Regions from separate parts of the Homo sapiens genome. Here all the other regions are linked to region 1. Evidence: promoter capture Hi-C in 16 types of primary human blood cells and fetal thymus (Javierre and others, 2016). All regions are on one chromosome and are shown on one strand. The core of a region is centred on a gene start or on the middle of the fragment in contact, and the rest is flanking DNA. Distances in the headings are between cores, read along the strand shown.

The links. Contacts are between HindIII fragments. The CHiCAGO score rates a contact against its expected background, and 5 or more counts as called.
Region 2: a fragment that was not itself captured here is called in contact with the fragment with the promoter of UQCR11 in region 1 in 2 of 17 cell types (naive CD4 T cells and total B cells); the score reaches 7.1 in naive CD4 T cells.
Region 3: a contact is called between a fragment that was not itself captured here and the fragment with the promoter of UQCR11 in region 1, in 3 of 17 cell types (megakaryocytes, endothelial precursors and erythroblasts). The highest score is 8.2, in megakaryocytes.

Annotation. Positions count from the first base shown.
Region 1 is chr19:1,603,501-1,607,459 of GRCh38, forward strand. UQCR11 (ubiquinol-cytochrome c reductase, complex III subunit XI) reads right to left here and starts at 1,962. Exons shown (of 3, transcript NM_006830.4): 1 at 1,860-1,962. The coding sequence starts at 1,909. RefSeq lists silencers at 1,713-1,782, 1,833-2,092 and enhancers at 2,153-2,462, 2,918-3,539. The HindIII fragment of the contact is 1,731 bases long and covers 1,455-3,185 here.
Region 2 is chr19:1,843,289-1,847,247 of GRCh38, forward strand. The region is part of intron 1 of REXO1 (RNA exonuclease 1 homolog); the gene reads right to left. Among named protein-coding and RNA genes, the nearest start is that of REXO1, 3.2 kb to the right of the region's middle. The HindIII fragment of the contact is 4,342 bases long and covers 19-3,959 here.
Region 3 is chr19:1,805,548-1,809,506 of GRCh38, forward strand. It overlaps ATP8B3 (ATPase phospholipid transporting 8B3), which reads right to left. Exons shown (of 29, transcript NM_138813.4): 5 at 2,675-2,788; 6 at 1,621-1,719; 7 at 1,081-1,142; 8 at 550-622; 9 at 341-411. Among named protein-coding and RNA genes, the nearest start is that of ATP8B3, 4.7 kb to the right of the region's middle. The HindIII fragment of the contact is 1,104 bases long and covers 2,008-3,111 here.

The DNA of each region.
Region 1 (3,959 bases), core at 712-3,211:
GGAGGCTGAGGCAGGAGAATGGCGTGAACCCGGGAGGCGGAGCTTGCAGTGAGCCGAGATTGCGCCACTGCACTCCAGCCGGGGCGACAGAGCAAGACTCCGTCTCTAAATAAATAAATGAATAAATAAATAAATAAATGCTTGCTGTTGGATGAAAGCACGGATGACGGGTGGTCCCCGCTGTGACTGAACACAGAAGAAGCAGACCTGCTGCACCCGGGAGGGGCTGCACTGGCTACCATGGGCCACTGGGTTCTCAGCTAGGAGCAGGCTTCCTCATCCCAGGCCTGAGTTACCCACGCTGTAAAACGCCACCGGCACCATCACATTCCACTTGAAGGTCCCAGTCAGCTCCACCGTGCAGACCCTGTCCCCGACCTGTCCCCCAGTCTGGGATAGAGGAAGTATGTTCTGGCTTCCGGAGACACTGCCAATCATAAGCCTTTGCTTTTTTCTTTTTTAGAAACGGAGTTTCGCTCTTGTTGCCCAGGCTGGAATGCAATGGCACAATCTCAGCTCACCACAACCTCCACCTCCCGGGTTTGAGCGATTCTCCTGCCTCAGCCTCCCAAGTAGCTGGGATTACAGGCACGCGCCACCATACTTGGCTAATTTTGTATTTTCAGTAGAGACGGGGTTTCTCCATGTTGGTCAGGTTGGTCTCAAACTCCTGACCTCGGGTGATTCGCCCGCCTTGGCCTCCCAAAGTGTTGGGATTACAGGCGTGAGTCACTGCGCCCAGCAGCTCTAAATTTTTTTGTAGAGATAAGGTCTTGCTGTGTTGCCCAGGCTGGTCTCAAATTCCCAGGCTCAAACGATCCTCCCACCTTAGCCTCCCCAGTAGCTGGGACTACAGACAGGTGCCACCATGCCCTGATAATTTTTTGTTTTGTAGAGATGGGGTTTCATTGTGTTGTCCAGGATGGTCTTGAACTCCCAGGCTCAAGTGATTCTCCTGCCTGGGCCTCCCAAAGCACTGGGATCACAGGCCGGAGCCACTGCACCCGGCTAAGACCTTGCTGCTTTTTTTTTCTTTTCTCTTTTTGGGACACAGTCTCATTCTGTCACCCAGGCTGGAGTGCAATGGCGCAATCTCAGCTCACTGCAACCTCCTCCTCCCGGGTTCAAGCGATTCTCCTTCCTCAGCCTCCCGAGTAGCTGGGATTAGAGGCACCCGCCACCACGCCTGGCTAATTTTTGCATTTTTAGTAGAGACGCGGGTTTCACCACGTTGGCCAGGCTGGTCTCGAACTCCTGACCTCAGGTGATCCACCTGCCTCGGCCTCACAAAGCGCTGGGATCACAGGCGGGAGCCACCGCACCCAGCCAGGCCTTGCTTCTTAGCACCCCACGTGGAAACACCAGACAACCCTACGGAGGCCACCCCCAGCCCGGCTTCTATGGGGGCCACCCCTATGCCGTCCCGCTGCCCACGTGGGCTCAGGCGCAGCTGAAGCTTTCACGCTCCTTGTTAAAAATCATAAAAACCAAAATAGTGGCAAAGGCCGAAGATGCCGCGAGTGCTGGGCTGGGGATCGGGACTCGGCACCTTCTGGGCGCTTCCGTCCAGGGGGTCACCATTCGGATCCCCCGGTAGAGATGGGGAAACTGAGGCTTGGAGCGGCCTAGCCGCGGAGCCGGGCATGCTGGGGTTTGGCCTTGGGTCCGTCACGTCCCGTTCACGCCGGGACGCGCCGCTCCGCCTCTCGGCCTCAGTTTCCCCCTCTGTCACCGGGAACAACAAGGGACCTGGGCCCGGCCCGGCCCGGCCCCCGGAAACGCGCACAAATACGGAACGCAGCGGCGCGGGGCTGGGCCGAGGCGGGAGCGCGGATGGGGCCGCGGGTCGGCGTCCTCACCAGTTCTTGACCAGCTCCCGGTAGCGTGGGCCCAGGAACCGGGTCACCATCGCGGCGGAGTCGCACCCTCAGGATGACCCTGTCCAGCTGACCCGGCTACACTGCGCAGGCGCGGCCGCGGCGCGCACGCGCGCGGGGAGGGCGGGGGGGGGGGGAGGAAAAAAAAACATCATCCGCCACTGTGCGCGCAGACCCGGAAGCCACTTACAGTAACTTCCGGCGAGGGTTGGACGACCGCGGAGAAGTGGTCCGGAGTGGGCGGCGTTAGGGCGGTGCTTTCTGGCCACGTGGTCTGGCGGCCGATTGTGCTTCTGGGCTCCGCGGGGCTACCTGCCAGTGATTTTGTGCGCCTAGTATGTGCCAGAACGTTATTTACAATGAAGGAAACTGAGGTCCAGCGGGGAAGGGTCTTGCTCAGAGTCACACAGAGGGGAAGAGCTGGGATTGGAGCCCACTTTTGGAGGCGTCAGGCGTTGTTCCTGATTCGCTGTAGGACTTTGGTCGAGCGGCAGTGCTTCCCTGAGCCTCAGCGTTGCCCGTTGCTTGGAGGCCCTGTCGGAAATCTCTTTGCAGGATTCCGTTTGCGAGCCTGGGTTATTCCTCATTCCGGCAGCAGAGGGTGGCCTGGCTCCTTGCTCGGTGAACGTCTCTGGATGCTCTTAGCTGATGACAGGCAGGTCTTTCTGCCTCCTGCTTTCCACCGCACCAGGCTCGCTTGGGCTCGCCTTTCTCCAGTCCCTGCTTCCTCTGCTCTCCCACAACCCGGCGCAGCACCGTACATGCTCACTCAGCTCCCAGCTTCCAGCCTCCCCCCTGCACACCGGGCCGGTGTGGGCAGAAGGAAGAGGGGCATATTCCCAGACACCGCCATTGCACTTTTGTGCCTTTTCCCCCATATTCAAGAGTTGCCTCCCTCAGGAAGCCCTCCTGGACTGCCTGACCCACAGGCACCTTTACAGCATGAACGGAAAGGCCATAGCCTAGACGGGGCACTGGGCGTGATTTGTCTCTCGGGCGCCAGCGTCACTTGCAGGCCTCGTGATAAGGAATGGACACCGTGGGTTCTTCTGCCCAGCCTGGCCTGTCCTCCTGGGGTCAGCCCCTCAGTACACCCCAAGCCTGCAGCTCTCTGGGGACTGCGGGTGCTAACCCATCCCTATCCCTGGTTAAGGACTCAGGGTGGGAGCCGGAAATAGGTTTTGGACACCACAGTCTGGGCACTGTTTTTCTTTCTTTTTTTTTTTGAGACGGAGTCTCGCTCTGTGGCCCAGGCTGGAGTGCAATGACACGATCTCGGCTCACTGCAACCTCCGCTTCCCGGGTTCAAGCTTCTCCTGCCTCAGCCTCCCAAGTAGCTGGGACTACAGGCGTGAGCCACCACACCTGGCTAGTTTTTGTATTTTTAGTAGAGATGGGGTTTGGCCATGTTGGCCAGGCTTGTCTTGAATTCCTGACCTCAAGTGATCCGCCTCCCAAAATGCTGGGATTACAGGTGTAAGCCACCGGGCCCGGCCCTGGGCATTGTTTGTAGAACTTTCCAGTTGGCTTGGGGTTTTTGAGCTTGGGATCAGAGAGCACCTGAATAAGACTCTTCCCATTGGTGGAAACTTAAAAAAGTGGGATGCAGGGGCTGACACAGAGACTATTAAGAGAAAGGACAGGAACACAAGGGCTGCTGGAATGTCAGCCCAGAGTTTCCAGATGCCACAATGTAAGAGTTCACCAGTGGCCGGGCACGGTGGCTCACGCCTATAATCCCAGCACTTTGGGAGGTTGAGGCGGGCAGATCACCTGAGACTGGGAGTTCGAGACCAGCGTGACCAACATGGAGAAACCCCATCTCTACTAAAAATACAAAATTAACCGGACATGGTGACGGATGCCTGTAATTCCAGCTACTCGGGAGGCTGAGGCAGGAAAATTGCTTGAAAACCCGGGAGGCAGAGGTTGCGGTGAGCCGAGATCACGCCATTGCACTGCAGCCTGGGCAACAAGAGTGAAACTCCGTCTCAAAACAAACAGACAAAAAAAAGAGTTCATCAGAGACAGTGACATAAACAAGAGCTGAGAGATGGAGAGAGATTTGTAATGACACCTGGA
Region 2 (3,959 bases), core at 940-3,439, 240 kb after region 1:
AGAGCCACAGCTGGGCAAAGCTTCAACCCCCCGCCCGGAGGGTCCCAGCTCCCCAGGGCCCAGAGCCGCAGCTGGACTCGCAGGCTCGCCGGCGAGGGCTGAAAAAGAAACGGCCTCAGCACCACCGCTGGTTGTCACCACTGGGGTCAGGGAAGCCCAGGGACGCTGCTCAACATCCTACAACGCAAAGGACAGCCCACCAGACGACAATCTGGCCCCCAGTGTCCCTAGCACCAACCGTCCCTCCAGCAAGCTCCATAGCTGCCACTCCAGGCCAGGCAGGCAGGCGGCCCCGGTGGCCCGATTGCCCACCTGCCACCCGCTGGTAAAATCACCCCCGGGTCCTCATACGCCCTGGTCAGGCCTGGGGAACCAAAAGACAATACTGCTGGCTGCGGGGGTTCTCCCCTAGAGTCCATTCCTTCCTGGACGCGGCTCACTGAGGATGAAAAGTCGGACCGAGGAGAGCACACACTGTCACGTCTCTGAAGGTGACACAGGTGGTCAGACGGTGCCTTCACTGCCCCACGGAAAGCCGGCTGTCTCCCATCCACCAGGAGGAGGCAGCACAGGACGCAGCCAGCGGGAGCTCCTGACCCTCCTGAGAGGCCAGAGGAAATGAAGGCAAGCCATCCTCTGCAGCGAGGCGCCATTCTTGGCCTCCTTCTCCCTTCTCGCCTGACTCGGGGCCTCAGAGTTTCCGAGGAGAGCTGGCAAGCCCTAACAGATCAGTAGGATCCCAGGGCTCACCTGCCTAGCAGGGGTATGGGAGGCTGTCACCGACACCGGAGAGCCAGGCCTGCTTCAGGCCCATCCTTGGAAGGTTTCAAGTTCCCTTCTGTGCCCAGCCCACAGAGGCTGGCAGCAAAAACGGCAGAGGAGGCAGGCAGGGCCCCGGCCCACCCACATCCAACCCAGCACTGCCAGTTACCAGCCACGCGTACACAGGTGAGCAGCCTCCCGGCGCTGGGCCTCAGTTTCCTCATCTGTAAACTGGGAAGAGCCACTCCCACTGCTGTTTGGGGGTCACAGGCAGAGTCCGCCCAGTACTGCTGTGGTAGTGGCCAAGTCAAGAGGTAGGGACCCCAGAGCCCATGTGAGGGGCCACATCTGAAGAGCCAGAAGGAGGAGGACCCCTGCCTGACCCGACTCTGCTAGAAGGCTCAGGAGATACTGGGTACATGGTGGCTGGGCTTCAGGAGATATTGGGTACACGGTGGGTGGGCTTCAGTAGATACTGGGTACACAGTGGGTGGGCTTCAGGGCTCCCCATGTACCTGGGGCTGCTCCCTGAGCGCCTCTACCCCAGGACTCCTGCCCTCTACAGATGCAGTTCTGGAGAGTCGCCTGGAGCCCCAGCTGGGACGCCGCCAACAGCCCCACCCAGAACCACTGGCACCGGGCTGCCAGATCCTGAACCCGACTGCGGGATCCCCGAGGGCAGGAGCTGTGCGCCCCGCACACACGTCTGCCGCTCACTTTGCAGTATAGGATGGCCCCTTCCCCAGGCCTGGGACTGTCCTGCTGGGGCCTGAGTCAGCCTGTGGCGCAGCACTAGCATCCCCTCAACGTGGTGCCCTCAGCCTCTGCCTCCCTCAGGAGAAGCATCATCTGGGAGCACGTTCCTGCCGGAGCTGTGAAGCCCTGAGCTGGGGCCCACCGCACCTCTGGAGAGCCCTGGACTTTCCTGCAATCCTCCCCGGAAGGGTTCCCTCTCCTGGAAGACAGTGTCCTGCCTCTCAGTAGGACACAGACTCCCTGAGACACCACAGGGAGTGCGGGGCAGTGGGCAGAGGCCTGGGTTCTGAGGTCAGATGGGAGGAAGGTGGGATCTAGCCCTGCCCACTCCACATAGACAACCGAGGCCCCTCACCTACCACCAGGCTGCAGCCAAGGCCCAGGCAGCAGAGAGCGGCCACTGGGGGGATAGTAACGCTCATTCCCAACTCACAAGGCTGGGATAGAACGTGCCCCTCTAGGCCGGGGATGCACATCCCTGCGTCCCAGGGCTACACGGTGCCCGCCGTAAGGGCTGCTGGACCATCCCTCCAAGCCACCCTGGGCAGGTCCAGCCGGCTCTGAAATGGCTGTGCAGCCCAGCGCGGTGCTTCACGCCTGTCATCCCAGCACTTCAGGAGGCTGAGGAGAGAGGATCGCTTGAGTCCAGGAGCTCAAGACCAGCATGGGCAACAAAGTGAGACCCCGTCTCGGCAAAAATTTTAAACATTAGCGAGGTGTGATGTCACATGCCTGTGGTCTCAGCTAGTCAGGAGGCTGAGCCAGGTGGATCCCTTGAGTCCAGGAGGTCGAGGCTGCAGTAAGCTGTGATCGCACCACTGCACTCCAGCCTGGGTGATAAAGTGAGACCCTGTCTCAAAAATTAATTCATTAAATAAAATGGCTGAGCAGGTCCAGGGATAAGAGCCCAGAAGGAAACCTGAGTCCTTCAGCAGTGCTGCTCAAGGTCGCCAATGACCCGCTGAGCCTGTGACCCAGGGCCCAGGAGCACCAGCCACCTTCCTGTTCCCGTCGCAGCTCCGCCAAGCCTCCCAACCCTGCCTGCCTTGGTGCCCTCATCAGATGCCCTCTCCTTCTCCCAGAGGCCCTGGAGGCTCCAGCCCTGCCCTGGCCAGGTGGTAGTATGGGCAAAACACGTTCCTCGATAAGCCTCCGTTTCCCCACCGGCAGCAAATAGCTCACAGGGTCACCATGCAGCGCGTGTCCAGCACAGAGCATGGCCCCACAGGTGCTCCAGGGCTAGCTGAGGGCTTTTCACCTGAACCTCTGTCCACTCTCAATCCTGGGAGGCCAGCGTTCCTGTCTATCTCCTCTCTGGAGGCCGCTGCCCTGTGCACCCTAAAATCCCCTTGAGAAGACATGGCAAAGGCTAGATCACGCCAGCCTCTTCAAATCTCATAGGAAACTGGGTGTGTGTAAATCTGGAGGTGTGGACATGGGACATGCATCCCCCCCTGTCCTCAGAGGGCAGCCTGATGAACATGTCACGGAGGCGGAAACAGAGGGTCAGAGAAACCTCACCGCAAGGAAGATGGATCCTGCCTTCTGCGGGGGGAGGCAGTCTTCTACCAGACAGTAACAAGAAGCCCTACCACCCCACCAGAGATGGGAAAAGGAGTTCATTCTCACCAGCAAAAGGGAAATGCAGACACGCCATGGTAAGAGGCAGGCAGCTGCCTTTTTCCCATAGGAACGGGGGGCAGACAGGAAGACGACATCACCAAAGGGACCCTCAAAAATAAGCCTTTGGGAAACAAATGAGCCATTTGGGATGCAGACAGATATCATAAGCCTGACTTGCGCCGGGTGCAGTAGCTCACACCTGTAACCCCAGCACTTTGGGAGGCCGAAGCAGGAGGTCGGCTCGAGGCCAGGAGTTTTGAGACAAGCCTGGACAACATAGCGAGACCCTATCTCCACGAAAACATACAAAGTTAGCCAGGCTTGGTGGCACCCGCCGCCCATAGTCCCAGCTACTCAGGAGGTTCAGGCAGGAGGATCCCTTGAGCCCAGGAGGTCGAGGCCTCAAAGAGCTGTGATCGCACCACTGCACTCCAGCCTGGACTATAGAGTGAGACCCTGTCTCTAAAAATAGGGTTAAAATGAGCATCGTGAGTCTGGTGTCACAGCCTCCGAGAAGCCTCTCCCACGCGTTGCCTTCTTCACCAACTCCCAGCCCCCGCCAAAGCCGGCTGCGTGCTCCCAGGACATCACGACCTATGCTACGGGATCTGTAGGCACAGCTGTCGGCAGGTCCCTGAGAGCACAGCCGGCATCGTACGCAGCTCTGAATCCCCCGCCTCAAACACAGCGAAGACGCTGGGCTGTGGGGAGCTGACAAGTGATTGCTTGCATCTGTCCACCTGCAAACAACCGCCCACAGGTGCAGGTGTCCCAAGCACACTTATCAGGGAAATCAGAAAAAAATGCTACCTTTTCTG
Region 3 (3,959 bases), core at 1,310-3,809, 200 kb after region 1:
ACTGAGCACCTACTAGTTCGCCAGCTGCCAGTCAGATGGCTGAGGCCCAGAGAGGGAGAAGGCCTTGCCCAAGGCCACACAGCACATTTGCAAAGTGCTGAGGCCAGGGCCTAGGGCCTAGGGCCTCCTGCCCGTATGCACACAATGGAAACAATGGGGAGGGTGGGCGTCTTCCTCCCCTCAGTGCCTGGCAGCACCCACGCCCCAGACACTCATGGGGTGAGTGACCAAAGTCTCTGAGCGACCTTGGCTGGCCGCCTCCTTGGTGACTGGGGAAGGGGGCTCCTCCGGGCCATGCTCCCCACCCCCCAGGGTCCCCAGCGATGCCACAGCTCCTCACCCGTCAATGTCCACCGTCTCCACATAGCACAGGCTGCTGGGCTCCGTGCTGGCCAGCAAGAGCATGTCGGCCTGGTGTGGAGTGGGGGGCAGCGTTGCAAGAGGGGATGCAAGACAAATTGGGGGTGCGGCAGCCCTCCCCACCCTGGGAGGGGTGCTCTCGGTGAGGGGGCGCGTGGTTCTGGGACCTCGGGGTCAACCCCAGCTCACTGGGACGATGTTGTCCTTGCGGAGACAGACCACATCCCCCACGCACAGATCCTGCCATTTCTTCTGCTTGAAGCTGCGGGGAGAGGGGGTTGTGAAGGAGGCCCCTCCCTCTGCCAACCCTCCCCACACCGGGAGACCAGAGGCACGGGATGACGGGGGGCCCGCAGCTGCAGTCCCCACCTCCGGGCCTTTGCCCCCTCAGGAAGCCTTCCCCGGGCTCCCACCCCACTCCCCGCGGGTCCACGCTCCCACCCAGTGACCTCCAGGGTCCTGCACCCACGTCCTCTTCAGACTTTCCTTGTCCTCCCCATCGCCCGAGCCCTAAGCTCTGCAAGGGTTCGCCATCAGGGCCTCGGCCTCTGTCCTCGTCCCGGCCAAACGCCTAATGAATGCAGGCCCGGTTCCTGTCGGACTCAACCAGCCGGGAGATCAGGGAGCACGGAAGGTGATGGACACTTGCCGAGGCCGATGACCCTGCTGGGCTGGAGCCCCCGTGTCCCCGCGGATCCCCAGCTGCAGCCCCAGCCTCACCTCTTCCCCATCAGAATCTGGCAGGGTCTGTTGTTGATGGCTCTGTCACTCTTGTGTCTCCCCTGGGCCAGGAGGGAAAGGATCAGAGAGACCGTCCAGCCTCTCCTGCCCCCGCCCAGGCCGCTGCCGCACTGCAGCCCAGCAGTGCCCGCCCGCAACACGGGGTCCCTGTCCGCTGGCCCCACGCCACGTTGCGTCTGCTCAGGGATCCCGGACGTGGGGGCCACTGGACCCACTGCTATTGGCGGGGAGAAGACAGGCGTGCTGCCCACCACCTAGAGTGCCTGCCAGACCACCCCCCACCAAAGCTCAATGGCCCCAAAACCACGCACCGACAGAGCCAACGCCACCTGCGGCACCTGCCCAATGTGGGTGCTAGCAGATAAGGACAATGTAGCCCCAGCAGCTGAGGCTCCCAGGCCCACGTTCCCCTAATGCTCCAGGAAGCCCAGCCCTCCTCCCACTCTCGCCCAGGGATCAAGAGACCCCCCCGACCGGCCCCGCTCCCTCCCCCAGGCAGCTGCATCCAACAGCACTCACCATGTCGTCCACCAGGTCCCGGGTGGCACGGATGAAGAGGAGGCAGACCATAGGGGTACTGAGCGAGAACCAGGGCAGCGTGGAGATGTCGGGAATGCTCTGACGTGAGGGGGCCACAGGAAGGGTCACACCAGCCCACTCCCCCGTCCCCTGCCCTTCCACCAAGCCGACCTAGCCCCGCACTCGACACCACGTGACACATCTGCTGGCCACCTTGACCGGGGTCCAGCCATCTCCTGCAACCCCCAGCCCTCGGGACAAACGCCCCGGCATCCCTCCACCTGCCTGGAACTTCTCCCACACGCCTCGTCTCCCCAGCAAACTCCCCTTCTCCCGTCCAAGCCCAGCTCCCACGGTGCCTTCTCCAGGGAGCCTCCCCCAGCCCCAAGCTTGGCCGCCACTGCTCCCCCTCCCTCCCATGTCCCTGCTTCCCCAGGTCACCCTGCAGGTGTGAGCTCCACCATCCCCTACCCTGGCACCCGGCCAGCGGCCTGCACACAGTAGGTACTCCATTAATGCTGAATGACTCGATGGATGAAAGGAGAACCTCTCCATCCAGAACAGAAATGAGATGTTGGGTGAGAGTGTTTGCTCTGAAAACAGCGCCCCTGGCCGGATGCCGGCCCCACGCTGGCCTGGACCACCCAGGTACCGGGAAGTGGCTCCACAGGTCCTGAGAACATGCTCTGGGCTCCTCCTTCCCCCTCGCCTCTGAGGTCAGCTGGGAGGGCGGGGGCCAGGGGAGCTGCGTGGCCGAGGCCGTTTAGGCTGGGGAACAGCTATGCCTCCCGATGCCCAGCCCTGCCCAGCAGGAACCAGCGGGGCGTGGAGAGGGTGCCGTCATCAGACCTGGAGGGTGCATCCATCCACCTTTGTCATTCAACATGTACTGAGCGCCTCTTGTGTGCCAGGCCCTGGGCAGGGTAGTAGGGACTCAGCGCTGAGGGTCCCAGTCTGTGGGGAGTGGGACGTGAACCCACCCATCACACAGACAAACACATCGATGCTGCCAGGTGGCTAGGGGGGACTTCCTGGAGGAGGCAACACGCCTCACCTGCAGGATGATGATGATGAGGAAGAACAGGTTGGACACGCGGTGGAACTGCTCGTACAGGTTCAGCGGCAGGAACGAGTAGAAGTTGTACTTGGCCGTGCGGATGACATTGGTCTGGAACGAGAGCCGCGGGCTGCCTGGCAGAGGGGTGCCATCCAGGCCAGGGGATGGGGGTGCCCGAGGCCAGACCTGCCTCACTTGGCCTCGCCCAGCATCCTCTGGGCTATGGGACACACACCATTCATTAAGCATCTACTGAGCCAGCAGTTACTGAGCACCTGCTGAATGCAAGGCCTCAGACCAGCATTTACTGAGCACCTGCTGAATGCAAGGCCTCAGGCCAGCATTTACTGAGCACCTGCTGAATGCAAGGCCTCAGACCAGCATTTACTGAGCACCTGCTCAGTAATGTAAAAGCCTGGAGCCAGCATTAATCAAGCTTCTACTGAGTGCAAAGACTCATGGAGCTGTGACCAGCATTTCCCAAAGCAAGACACCCAAGAGGATTTCAGGTAGGGCCGCGATGGACACATTGTACTTTCAGGTTGGGTATTAACTGACCCTCACGTGCACTGGGACAGGGCAAATGAGACACACAGAACTCTTGTGCCAAACCAGTGATTTGGTTAGGACGGGCGGTTCGGTCCTCGAGATGAAAATAAAAATATCGGCCAGACATGGTGGCTCACCCCTGTAATCCCAGCATTTCGGGAGGTCAAGGTGGGTGGATCACTTGAGGTCAGGAGTTCCAGACCAGCCTGGCCAACATGACAAAACCCCATCTCTACTAAAGATGCAAAAAATTAGCCGGGCGTGGTTGTGGGTGCCTGTAATCCCAGCTACTTGGGAGTCTCAGGCAGGAGAATCACTAGAACCCGGGAGGCAGAGGTTGCAGTGAGCCGAGATCTCGCCACTGCATTCCAGCCTGGGCGACAGAGCGAGACTCCATCTTAAAACAAAACAGAAAAAAGAAAAAAGAGGCTGGGCGCAGTGGCTTACGCCTGTAATCCCAGCACTTTGGGAGGCCGAGGTGGGTGGATCACCTGAGATCAGGAGTTCGAGACCAGCCTGGCCAACATGGTGAAACTGTCTCTACTAAAAATACAAAAATTAGTCAGGCGTGGTGGTGCATGCCTGTAATCCCAGCTACTTGGGAGGCTGAGGCAGGAGAATTGCTTGAACCCCGGAGGTGGAGGTTGCAGTGAGCCGAGATGTCGCCACTGCACTCCAGCCTGGGCAACAGAGGGAGACTCTGTCTCAAAAAAAAAAAAGAAAGAAAGAAAAA